3 separate regions of the Homo sapiens genome follow, and regions 2 and 3 are each linked to region 1. The links are contacts of gene promoters, found by promoter capture Hi-C in human tissues and cell types (Jung and others, 2019). All regions are on one chromosome and are shown on one strand. The core of a region is centred on a gene start or on the middle of the fragment in contact, and the rest is flanking DNA. Distances in the headings are between cores, read along the strand shown.

Region 1 (3,219 bases), core at 411-2,910:
GTGCTGGCTTACGCCTGTAATCCCAACACTTTGGGAAGCCAAGGCCGGCGGATCACATGAGGCCAGGAGTTCAAAACCAGCCTGGCACACATGGCAAAACCCCATCTCTACTAAAAAAATTTAAAAATTAGCCAAGCATGGTTGGTGCGCACCTGTGGTCCCAGCTACTCGGGAGGCTGAGGCAGGAGAATCGCTTGAGCCGGGAGGCGGAGATTGCAGTGAGCCGAGATCACACTACTGCACTCCAGCCTGGGCGACAGAGTGAGACTCCATCTCAAAAAAAAAAAAAAAAAAAAAAAAAAAACAGCTAAAGGAGGAGTTCAGGGTGATCTCTAGCTCCTGCCAAATCCCCAAATCCAAATTAGTAAGTGACCCCACAGCTTAATCTTCCCTTCTCCTAAATCCCATTGGCACACTCCCTTCCCCTAATTCTCTATTTACTTCTCTGCTTCCCGCAGTGGACTCCAATTTCCCTGAGGGTGGACACCATGTCCGTTCTCTTTCCTTGTCTCCCCAGTGCTAGGCATATACCAGGAAGCTTTCAGTACATGTAGGACAAATGAATAGTTAATGGACTTGAATCAAGCTTTACAGTATAAAAGCACTTTCACCATCTCAGGTGATCCATTGAAATAGATAGTTGCGTTTATTTTATAGTTGAGTAAACTGAGGTGCGGAAGGTGGAACAACTCACCTAAGTTCACCCCCTAAGCCTCAACCTTAGCAGTGAAACTCACTAAAAGACATTAAACAGAGCCAGGTGTGGTGGCCCTTGCCTGTAGTCCCAAGGACTGGGGAGGCTGAGGCGGGAGGATTCCTTGAGCCTAGGAGTTCGAGTCCAGCCTGGACAACATAGCAAGACTCCATCTCTTTAAAAAAAAAAAAAAAAGACATCAAACACCAGCCTCCAGCACACTTAGCTTTGAATTGAAGATGACTGAGTTAGATCTGTGTACCAAGGCTTCCATATTGTGATGCAGAAAAGTTAAGGAGCTGAATTAAGTAGGTTCTCAAACTGAACCCCGGACTTCGAAGCTGGTTCCACGGTTTTATAAGGGCCACAAGAGGCCATCTAGCCCAAAACAGCTAACTTTCCAAACCGAAACTAGTTCAGAGGAAATCACTGACTCAGGTCAGCTTTTTATTAAGGAAATTAATTTTGTACCGTGAGCTCTAGAAGCCAGGCATATGATATTCAGACAGCACTGGATTCAGAACTATGCAGACTAAGGTCAGTAGATGGTAGGCAGGTCTATCTTCTGCAGCTGCAGGGTGCTTGACTCCAATTAAACATCAATACCACATCAGGAGCTCTTATGCCATAACCGCCCAACCTCTCCCAGCCGAGCTGATCACCAGAACCTGCGCGAATCTCTCCACGGTCAGCCCCACCCAGGGCTCAGGCTCCGCCCCCGGGCCTCCATAGCCCCGCCCACCGCCCACCCATCCAGCACCGCCCTTGTTGTCATGGTGATCTCCGGCTCTCCAGGGTGTCCAGGAGTCTCTCTGCTGCCAGCCCCGCCCAGACTCCAGGCAGGTTCTCGTTGCTATGGTGATCGCCGGTGCAAGCTGGATGCTTGGACGCGCCGCTGCCAGTCCAACGCAGACCCCGCCCACGACGTCGACGATTCGTGTAGCCCGCAGGTCCCGCGTGGCTCTCGTTGCCATGGTGATCGCCGCCGCTGGCTCAGGCGGACCAGGCCGCGCGGAGCCCCAGCTTTCACAGCCATCGCTGGTGAGTCAGCTCGCCCACTCTGTCCGACCCTCCCGGTCACCCAACCCCGTGCTGGCACATCCCGAGGCCAGGGCCGCGAGGGCACAGCGTCCGCGCCCACTTCCCGCCCCTATAACTTGAAAGCGGCCTGCGGCCCCGGGGCGTCCTCATTTCCGGAGCGCAAACTCTGGGCCAGGCCCGCGCTGGTTGTGGAGGAGAGCCAGGTCAGATGCGGGAAGACAACCGGACTCCGCCAGGACCACCCCAGCCCAGCCTGGAGAGGAGTCCGGACAGAAAAAGGAGACAGAGGGGCTGTTGAGGAGGCTCGAGGAGTCAGAGGCCTGGTGAAGTGAGGGTTTTCAGGGAAAAGGCCTAGTTGGCTGAAAGTTAAGGCCCCCAGGCCCACCTAGAGCCTTCGTCCTTTGCAGACTGGGAGCAGGAGACCCCTCCCCACTCTACTTCCACTGCCTGAGCTGTGCCATGCCTCACAGCCCAGTAAGGTAAGCTCAGAGGGGAGCTCCTCCTTGGTAGACACCTGTCAAGGGGAGACCCAGGTCTTCTGACTCCCAGGCAGGGTGGGGCAGGCCTGGTTCCCCCATACCATGCTGCCTGCTGTATGCAGATTGAGAGAAATGGCCTCTGCCCCATATTCCTGACAGAGAGGGAAGCCTGGATCTGGTTTTATTTATAATTCTTGAGACAAGGTCTTACTCTATCACCCAGGCTGGAGTGCAGTGGCACCTTCACGGTTCACTGCACCCTTGACCTCCCAGGCTCAAGCATTCCTCCCACCTTCCTCCCAAGTAGCTGGGACTGCAGGCACAGGCCACCATGCCCTGCTAATTTTTTTGGTTTTTTTTTGTAGAGACTGAGGTTTCACTTTGTTGCCCAGGCTGGTCTCAACCTCCTGGGCCCAAGTGATCCTCCCACCTTGGCCTCCCAAAGTGCTGGGATTACAGGCATGAGCCACTGCACCCAGCCTGGATCTGATGAAAAGTTAGGTGGAAACTCATGGGTGAATCCCCAGGTATTTGCACAGCTCCTTAACTGTCTTTCTCCTGGTTGGGTCCACAGGACTGTGGAAGAATGAGGTCCTCCCTGACACCTTTGGGGCCCCCTGTGAGCCGCGACCGTGTCATCGCCAGCTTCCCTAAGGTAGAGAGTCATTACGTCTGCAGTGCTCTCCTGGCCCTGCAGCCACATCAGCTCTCCCCACTCTACACTCATGCCTAGAAGTAAAGCAGGTGAATCAAGGAGGTCTGTCCATTGTCAGATTTACCTTGAGGAGCTGGGAGACTGGTCACTGACTGCCCAAGGTGGGACCGCAAGTTAATGGTGACACTGGGCAGCAGTGTGGCCTGGAGGTTATAAGGGCTGGGATTTTGCAGCCAGACAGTCCTTGATGTGAATCCTTCATTCTGATTCTGTCATTAAGCTGTGTGGCTGTGGGCAAATTACTCAACCTCTCAGAGCCACTGTTACATGAAGGTAATTCCTCTCATATT
Region 2 (3,219 bases), core at 269-2,768, 86 kb after region 1:
TCTGTGCCTGTTGGTAGTTTCAAGCTACTCTAGTGCCCATGCTGGGAGGCAAAATTCCAAAAACTGGAAAACCAGAAAAATCACTGCCAAGGTGTCCTTAAAGTCCTGCAATCTCTGCTCAGTCCTCCTGCCCTTATCTACCTTTTTGAGTCCCATGATAGAGGTTTCATGCAGAATTTGTACCTGTGGATAGTGGGAAAGGCTGTAGTGTGCTTTTTCCATCTTGCCTGGAATTGGAAGTTCCAACTTCTACATTTAGACGTCCTTCTCTCTGTGTGTGGTGATGTTCCCTGGGATAGACCACTACTGCCCTTAGACAGCATTCTGAGGGTGGTGGCCCATACTGATCACCTCAGCCCACCCAGTAACTTTCCTGCGGCCCCTCCCAAGACCCCCGCCCCAACAGGGCTAAGCTGATACACACACTGCGGATGCAGGCCTGCCTGCTGGGCCTTCCTGGTGTTTGTTTTTTCCAGGCAAAGCACCTCTCTCTGCCTCCTGCTGGTTTATTCAGCAGTGTCCCAGGGTTTGCTCATTGTCTGCTTTGCTTCAGACCCTTCTATCAAATTCCATTGTCTCTGTCTTAATGGTCTTTGCAGGGTAGGCATGGCCATCTGCATGTTCACTGAAGGGCCTGCCTGCATTTCCAGGGAGAGAAAGCCTTCAGGCCACTGGTGCATAAAGATCTTTGGAAATGTCCAGAAGATCCCAAACATTGCCTGTCCTGCATGCCAGGCCTCACTTGCCACCAGCCTGCTCCCCAGCCGCACATCCAGCTGTCATTTCCTAGAGAACCCATCCCACGCAGTTGTTTTGGACACATAGCGTTCCTTCAGGGAATGTGGCCCCGGGGCCACAGGTGGAGTAGAGGGCACAGTATCCCGAACCATCTAACGGGGCCCGACTCACCCTCACCATGCACCAGGCCAGTTATGGTTTCTTTCTGTGTCTTATTTCCCCCTCCATCAAATGAGAGTTATTGTAGAAACCTTATAGTGCTGTGTTGGGATTAGCAGTAAACAGTTTGGCATGTGGTAGATGCTCGGGAAATGGAAGCTGCCCTTTTTTCCTAATGGGAAAGAAGGGATTTTGTTTTTGAGACAATTCCCTTCCTCTGCTGCTGCATAGGGACACCTGGGTGCCTTTCTAAAATTAGACCAGGGCATGGTGGCTTGCTCGTAATCCCAGTGTTTTGAGAGGCCAAGGCGGGAAGATCACTTGAGGCCAGGAGTTTGAGACCAGCCTGGGCAACCTAGTGAGACTCCGTCTCTATAAAAAAATAAAATTAGCTGGATGTGGTAGTGCACGCCTGTAGTCCCAGCTATTCAGGAGGCTGAGTCAGGAAGATTGCTTGAGCCCCAGGAGTTTGAGGCAATGGTGAGCCATGTTCATGCCACTGCACTCCAGCCTAGCCAACAGAGCAAGACCCCGTCTCATAAAATAAAATAAAATAAAATAAAATAAAATAAAATAAAATAAATAAAATACCAACAGCCTGTGCTGGCTGGAGCCATGGTGTTAAAAGGCCCATGGACTTGGGCCATGCCTGAGCTGGCTGTGCTCTGCCTGCCACTTAGGCTGCCCCTCCCTGACCCAGCTTGTGTGGAGGAGGCATGGAATCCTACAGGAATGTGAAGTTCATCCTTCCCTGGATACTTGGGCACCATCTGGCCAGGCTCATGGAGCAAATGGGCCTGTGAGTTATGTCCCCACCCGTGCCTACGCCCAACCTTTATGCCCCGTTTTTAGTGGGAGAATTTTGTTTGGAGCTGCAGGTGTTGGGGGGTGGCACGTCTCAGGCTTTGGGGTCTTCCTGTTCTCTTTCTTGGCCCTGCTCCACTCCTTGGTTCCCCTGGCCCTGTCTTGCCTGCCTGTTAACTTTGGGTACCCTCAGCCTGTCCCAAGGCAGCTCATCCCTCAGGCCCTGCCCTGTCTTGTCTCTCCAGCCTCCCAGCCCAGGGGCTTGCTCTCCATGTAGTAACTAATACCTTAGTGTGATCCTCTAATTTTCTGTTGCTTTCTTGCTTCCATGGTTGTTGGAAGCCTGGAGACCCAGTGTTTGGCCAAGGACAGGGCCTGCTGGTTTTAGAGCTCCTGGCCCAGTAGGGATGATAGGACCCAGGACCCCAAGTGCTCTAGGCAGGCACTGTTCTGGGTGCTGTAAAGCACGGTGCCTAGCACCTCACAGGGACTCGGGGTGTCCTGGCTGACCAGCCGAATCCACTTTTTATTGACAAGAAGCCTGGGTCCCAGAGACATTAAGTAACGTGCTAAGGTCACCCACCTGGGCAGTGGTAGGGCTGGGTTTGAACCAAGGTCTGCACTGCCCAGCTCATGAATTCTGCTGCTTGGGAGCCAGCAGCACTACTGGCACAAGGGTAGGGGGACCTCAGGCCTGTCAGAGAGGGTGCCTGGCTCTTTGGGAGTGGGGGGTGCACCAGAGTGGGTTGGAGACAGGACCCAGAGCACCACCCTTTACCTGACCAGCATCTTGGTGGGGTTCCCCACCTGGAAAGGCAGGACCCTGGGGTCCAACAGAGCCTATTGCAGATCCAGGTTCTGGCCCAGCTGGGATGCTCACTGGCTTCTGTGGCTTATCAGCGAGCCTACCTGCTGCACCCGTGAGCATGGGCGGCCCCATCTGCCTCCTCCTTCAGGTGAGATGGCAGGATCAGAGAGATGGAATGAATGCTGCCGTGTCGCATTCATGTAGGAAGGCCTTATTTACAAACCATCTGTAGCAGTCAGAAGGCCTGATGTGGTCAGGCCAGACCATGGAGCCCCTGTTCTGGATCCATTTGGCAAAGATGAGAGAGAAGCTGGGTTAGGCTTTGTTGGGTAAATGCAAATGCCACATCTGTGTGTGCACACACATAGGCTGAGACATTTTTCTGCGAGGTGGGGGATCGCATTGAGGGAAGAAAAGGTGCTCTAATAGCTTCAGCCTGGACTTGGGTCCAGAGCTTTGGATAGAAGCATCTTTCCAGACAATTGGGATCCTGTAGAAAATCTGCCCTCTGAGGCTCTTCTATGCCTTCTGTTGTGTCCTGGGACCCCTTGGCATCTCCAGGCAGAGCCTATACAGAGCATCCACATCAGAGTCCCCTGTGGGCCCCAGTGCCTGTAGTTCCATCTCCTGCCTGGATGCTCGGTTCTTGGAGCGAGCTTCCTGAGCAGCCTCTGCAGGCTCCAGGCTCTGGCAGCATCTCCACGCCACTC
Region 3 (3,219 bases), core at 181-2,680, 75 kb before region 1:
AGAAGAGGAAACATTCCTAGGGAGGTTATGGGATGATGCTGAGATGCCACAGTGTCCAGCTGGCAAAGCCAGGCACATGCCCCTGCCCCTCCACCACAGAGCTATGATGGAGAGACCGCTCCATGGACCTCTGCCATGGTCAGGTCCAGGGCTGCTGCTCAAAGAATGGCATGATCCACACCTTACAAAGGTGTGAGGTGATAAGGAACGCGTTAGCTGGGAAGGCATTTGCACTTTGTCAGGGATGCTCTAGGATACACAAAGCTTCAGATTTACAAAGATGGAGAAGAGAGACAGGAGCATTCATGTCTTGGCCCTCTGGCTTGAGAGTCTTTTAAGCATGGAACTGAGGGACTCCTGGCCCTGAGGTCCACAGATAGGCTTTGAAATTGAAAACAGAATTTTGCAGCCTGGGTTCAGCTGCGTTTTGCTGAGGGTCTGATGCTTTCCACCAGCTTCCCAAAAGCGCCAATCAGTGGCCTTAACTGAACTGGCTCTCTCACGCTTGTCTGGGCTGGGGGCCAGCTCCTCGGTCCTTCTCCCTTCCTTCCCTCCCAAGGCCACCCTTCCGTGTGCCAGGATTGCCAGGGACGCCAAAGAGCCCCTAGACACTGGGCGGTGGCGGCGGGGGGCGGCGGCAGAGATGACTAATGCTCCCTCCCATCGCTGCACAAACCTCACCGGTGTAAATCGTTAGGGTTTGCATAGGCCTTTCACACGTTCTGAAGGATTGGTGAGACAATCCAGGAAAGCAGGTGCCACTAGCCCCACTTTGCAAACAGAAAGGCTGAGAGAGGTCAGTCGGTTGCCCAAGGACGTAGAGCTCACAAGAGGCCGAACTGGGTTTGAACCCGAGTGGAGAGAAGGCGAGCCGGGACTGGCTGCAGTAAAGAGGGCCAGGACCATGGCTGGGCTCAGGCTTGGTTTCCCGGGCTGCCAGAGGTGGCCCCTGGGGCTCGGCTACCAGGCCTCAGCGCAGCGGAGTCGGTGGAACGCCGGCGCGGGGAGCTCTTGCGGGACTGCGGCGCGCGCGGAGCTGCGACCCCGCCCCTGTCCGTCCCCATTGGGCTACTGGCCCGTCCGTCAGCTGCCTGTGCCCAATGGACAGAGGGCCGGCGCTCGTGGCGGGGCGGAGGTGCCCGGCGCGTGGTGCCCGGCGGGCGCGCGGCACCCCCCCGCCCGCGGTTGGCCTGGCAACGGGCTGCGCTCGCGGCTCCGCCCCCTGCCGGCGGCGGCGCGGCGCGGGGCGGGCGGACCCGCGGACTGGCGGCGGGCGGCGGGCGGCGGGCGGCGCGGGAGGGCGGGCGGAGGGAACCAGGCCGGCCGGAGCGTGTGCGCCGCCCGCGGTCCGGTCACGTCCCCGCGTGGGCGCCGCTGCCCGCGTCGTACGGAACGAGGGCGCCGCGGCCCCGTGCTCGCCGCCCCGCCCCGCCCCGCCCTGCCCGGAGCAGCTCGGCAGATGCTCTGTGCTGCGGCCCGGAGGTGAGTGAGCCGACCCGCGGCCGGCCGCGCGCCGCTGAGCCTCAGGGGTCGGGGGCACGGCCGGGGCATCCACCTTGCCCCCACTTGGGACTCTTCCCAGGCCTTTGTGCCCCGGATCCGCCAGGACGCAGCGTCAGGGATGCCCCTCAGGGGTGGGGGACACCAAGGGCGGGGACGCCTGCGAGGTGGGCAGGGGGCGGCCTCTGGTCGGGCAGGTGCTGGGGGAGGGATGCGCCGCCAAGCCGATGACCCCGCGGGAGGGGGCGGTTGAGGACCCGGGAGGGTGGACAGAGGGCGCCGGGGATGCCGCGCGGGGCCGCCGGGCGCCCCCAAGCAGCGGCTGATGCGGAGCCCGGGCGGGCCAGGCGAGCTGCGGGAGCGGCGCTGAGGCGGGTCTCCCTAGGGGGAGGATCAGGGAGGGGCGGCCGGAGCCGATGCAGGGCCTTGCCTGAAACCGAGGAGAGGGCCCCAGAGGCCTGGGCCCGAGGACCTGGGCCCGCAGACGGACAGCTAGCAGTTCTCGGTCACTGCTCTTGCAGCGAGCAGGTTCCTCACAGGCATTTAGAGGAAGAGATGAGTATCGACCTGCTGCGATTGTAATACGTTCCCGGCTCAATATTTTTTCCCTTAAAAGGCGGTGGGGGTGTTTGGGGGAGGGGAGTGAGGGCCTCAGGGCTGGCGCTCCGTATCCTGCGGGCGATCCGAGGGGGCTCTGCCTTTAGGGCGGTGCTGAGCCTTCCTGGGTGATGATGGCAGGATTCGGCCTAGGCCGAGAATGGGGGCTCCTGTTAACTGAGACAAGAGGATGATGCCAAGCGAGACCAGCGTTCCGCGTAGTCCGTGTTGGGGTGGAGGGACCCGCCTGGTAGAGAGGTCTGTCTTGCTTGGGGAGACAGCTGAGCCCCTGACCGGCTCCTTTCTGCCCAAGTGATTTCCCTGCCCTGGGGATTGAGCTCTCTGGAGAAGGCTCCTTGGCCAAATTCAATTAAGCAAATATTTATTGAGTGGTCACTCCCCCAGAGCTTGACGCTGGGGTGCACCGGGTGGGAGTGGACTGGGCCTGCCCTCCCAGGACTGATTGACCACCGCATAGGGGAAAACGTCTCTACTCGACCAACCCCGCTTGAGTGCAGGTGCAGGGGCCTCGGGAGGGACCTCAGAGTGGTGTCCTGGGCTGGGGGGTCAGGTGAGCTCGTGGGCAACATGACATTTGAACTGGAGCTTGAAGGACATGGGCACAGCTAAGCTGGGCATTGTGGGCAGAGAGGAGAGAATAGACCGAGGCACTTGGGCAGTTAGGTCTGATGGGAGCACTTAGCATGCCTGGGGAGTAGGAGGAGGTATGGCGGGAAAGGCCGGTGGGGGCTGCACGGGGCTGAGGGAGCTGGGAAGTGGAATGACCCCACTGCTGGTTAACTGTGGCTATGGTGGAGACCACGGCTTCCTCATCTGTAAAAGCGAAGCAGTTCCATGACCCCATGAGCTGGGGTGGGCCTGGAGAAGAGCTAGCTTTAAAGACTGGGGAAGGCTCCTTGCAGTCTGAGACTGTGCTTCCAGGCACTTCTCCCTCGGGCACAGCCAGGGCACTGGGTAACCACCCAGGCAACCCCCTTGTTAGGATTGAGTTGCCTGTTTCGGGGATGATGCTTAGCTAGTGACTCTGTGCCTCTGGGATGTGGATGTTTGAGAGCAGTAATCGTGGCAGCCTGGGAGCATCCATCTACGGGGTGCAGTGGG

The links. The method cuts DNA at HindIII sites, captures the fragments that hold promoters and counts their contacts. A contact is called where the count stands out against the background at its distance.
Region 2: a fragment that was not itself captured here is called in contact with the fragment with the promoter of RAB36 in region 1 in 14 of the 25 tissues and cell types used here (IMR-90 fibroblasts, aorta, bladder and 11 more).
Region 3: the fragment with the promoter of GNAZ here is called in contact with the fragment with the promoter of RAB36 in region 1 in 4 of the 25 tissues and cell types used here (adrenal gland, dorsolateral prefrontal cortex, lymphoblastoid cells and 1 more).

Annotation. Positions count from the first base shown.
Region 1 is chr22:23,143,817-23,147,035 of GRCh38, forward strand. RAB36 (RAB36, member RAS oncogene family) reads left to right here and starts at 1,661. Exons shown (of 11, transcript NM_004914.5): 1 at 1,661-1,735; 2 at 2,789-2,869. The coding sequence starts at 2,801. It also overlaps a transcript of RSPH14 not described here. RefSeq lists a silencer at 1,414-1,483. The HindIII fragment of the contact is 15,551 bases long and covers 1-3,219 here.
Region 2 is chr22:23,230,072-23,233,290 of GRCh38, forward strand. All of the region lies in intron 1 of BCR (BCR activator of RhoGEF and GTPase), which reads left to right. Among named protein-coding and RNA genes, the nearest start is that of BCR, 51 kb to the left of the region's middle. RefSeq lists an enhancer at 1-24. The HindIII fragment of the contact is 9,635 bases long and covers 1-3,219 here.
Region 3 is chr22:23,069,089-23,072,307 of GRCh38, forward strand. GNAZ (G protein subunit alpha z) reads left to right here and starts at 1,431. Exons shown (of 3, transcript NM_002073.4): 1 at 1,431-1,482. All of the region lies in intron 4 of RSPH14 (radial spoke head 14 homolog), which reads right to left. RefSeq lists silencers at 1,106-1,245, 1,386-1,525 and enhancers at 2,132-3,012, 3,013-3,219. The HindIII fragment of the contact is 23,611 bases long and covers 1-3,219 here.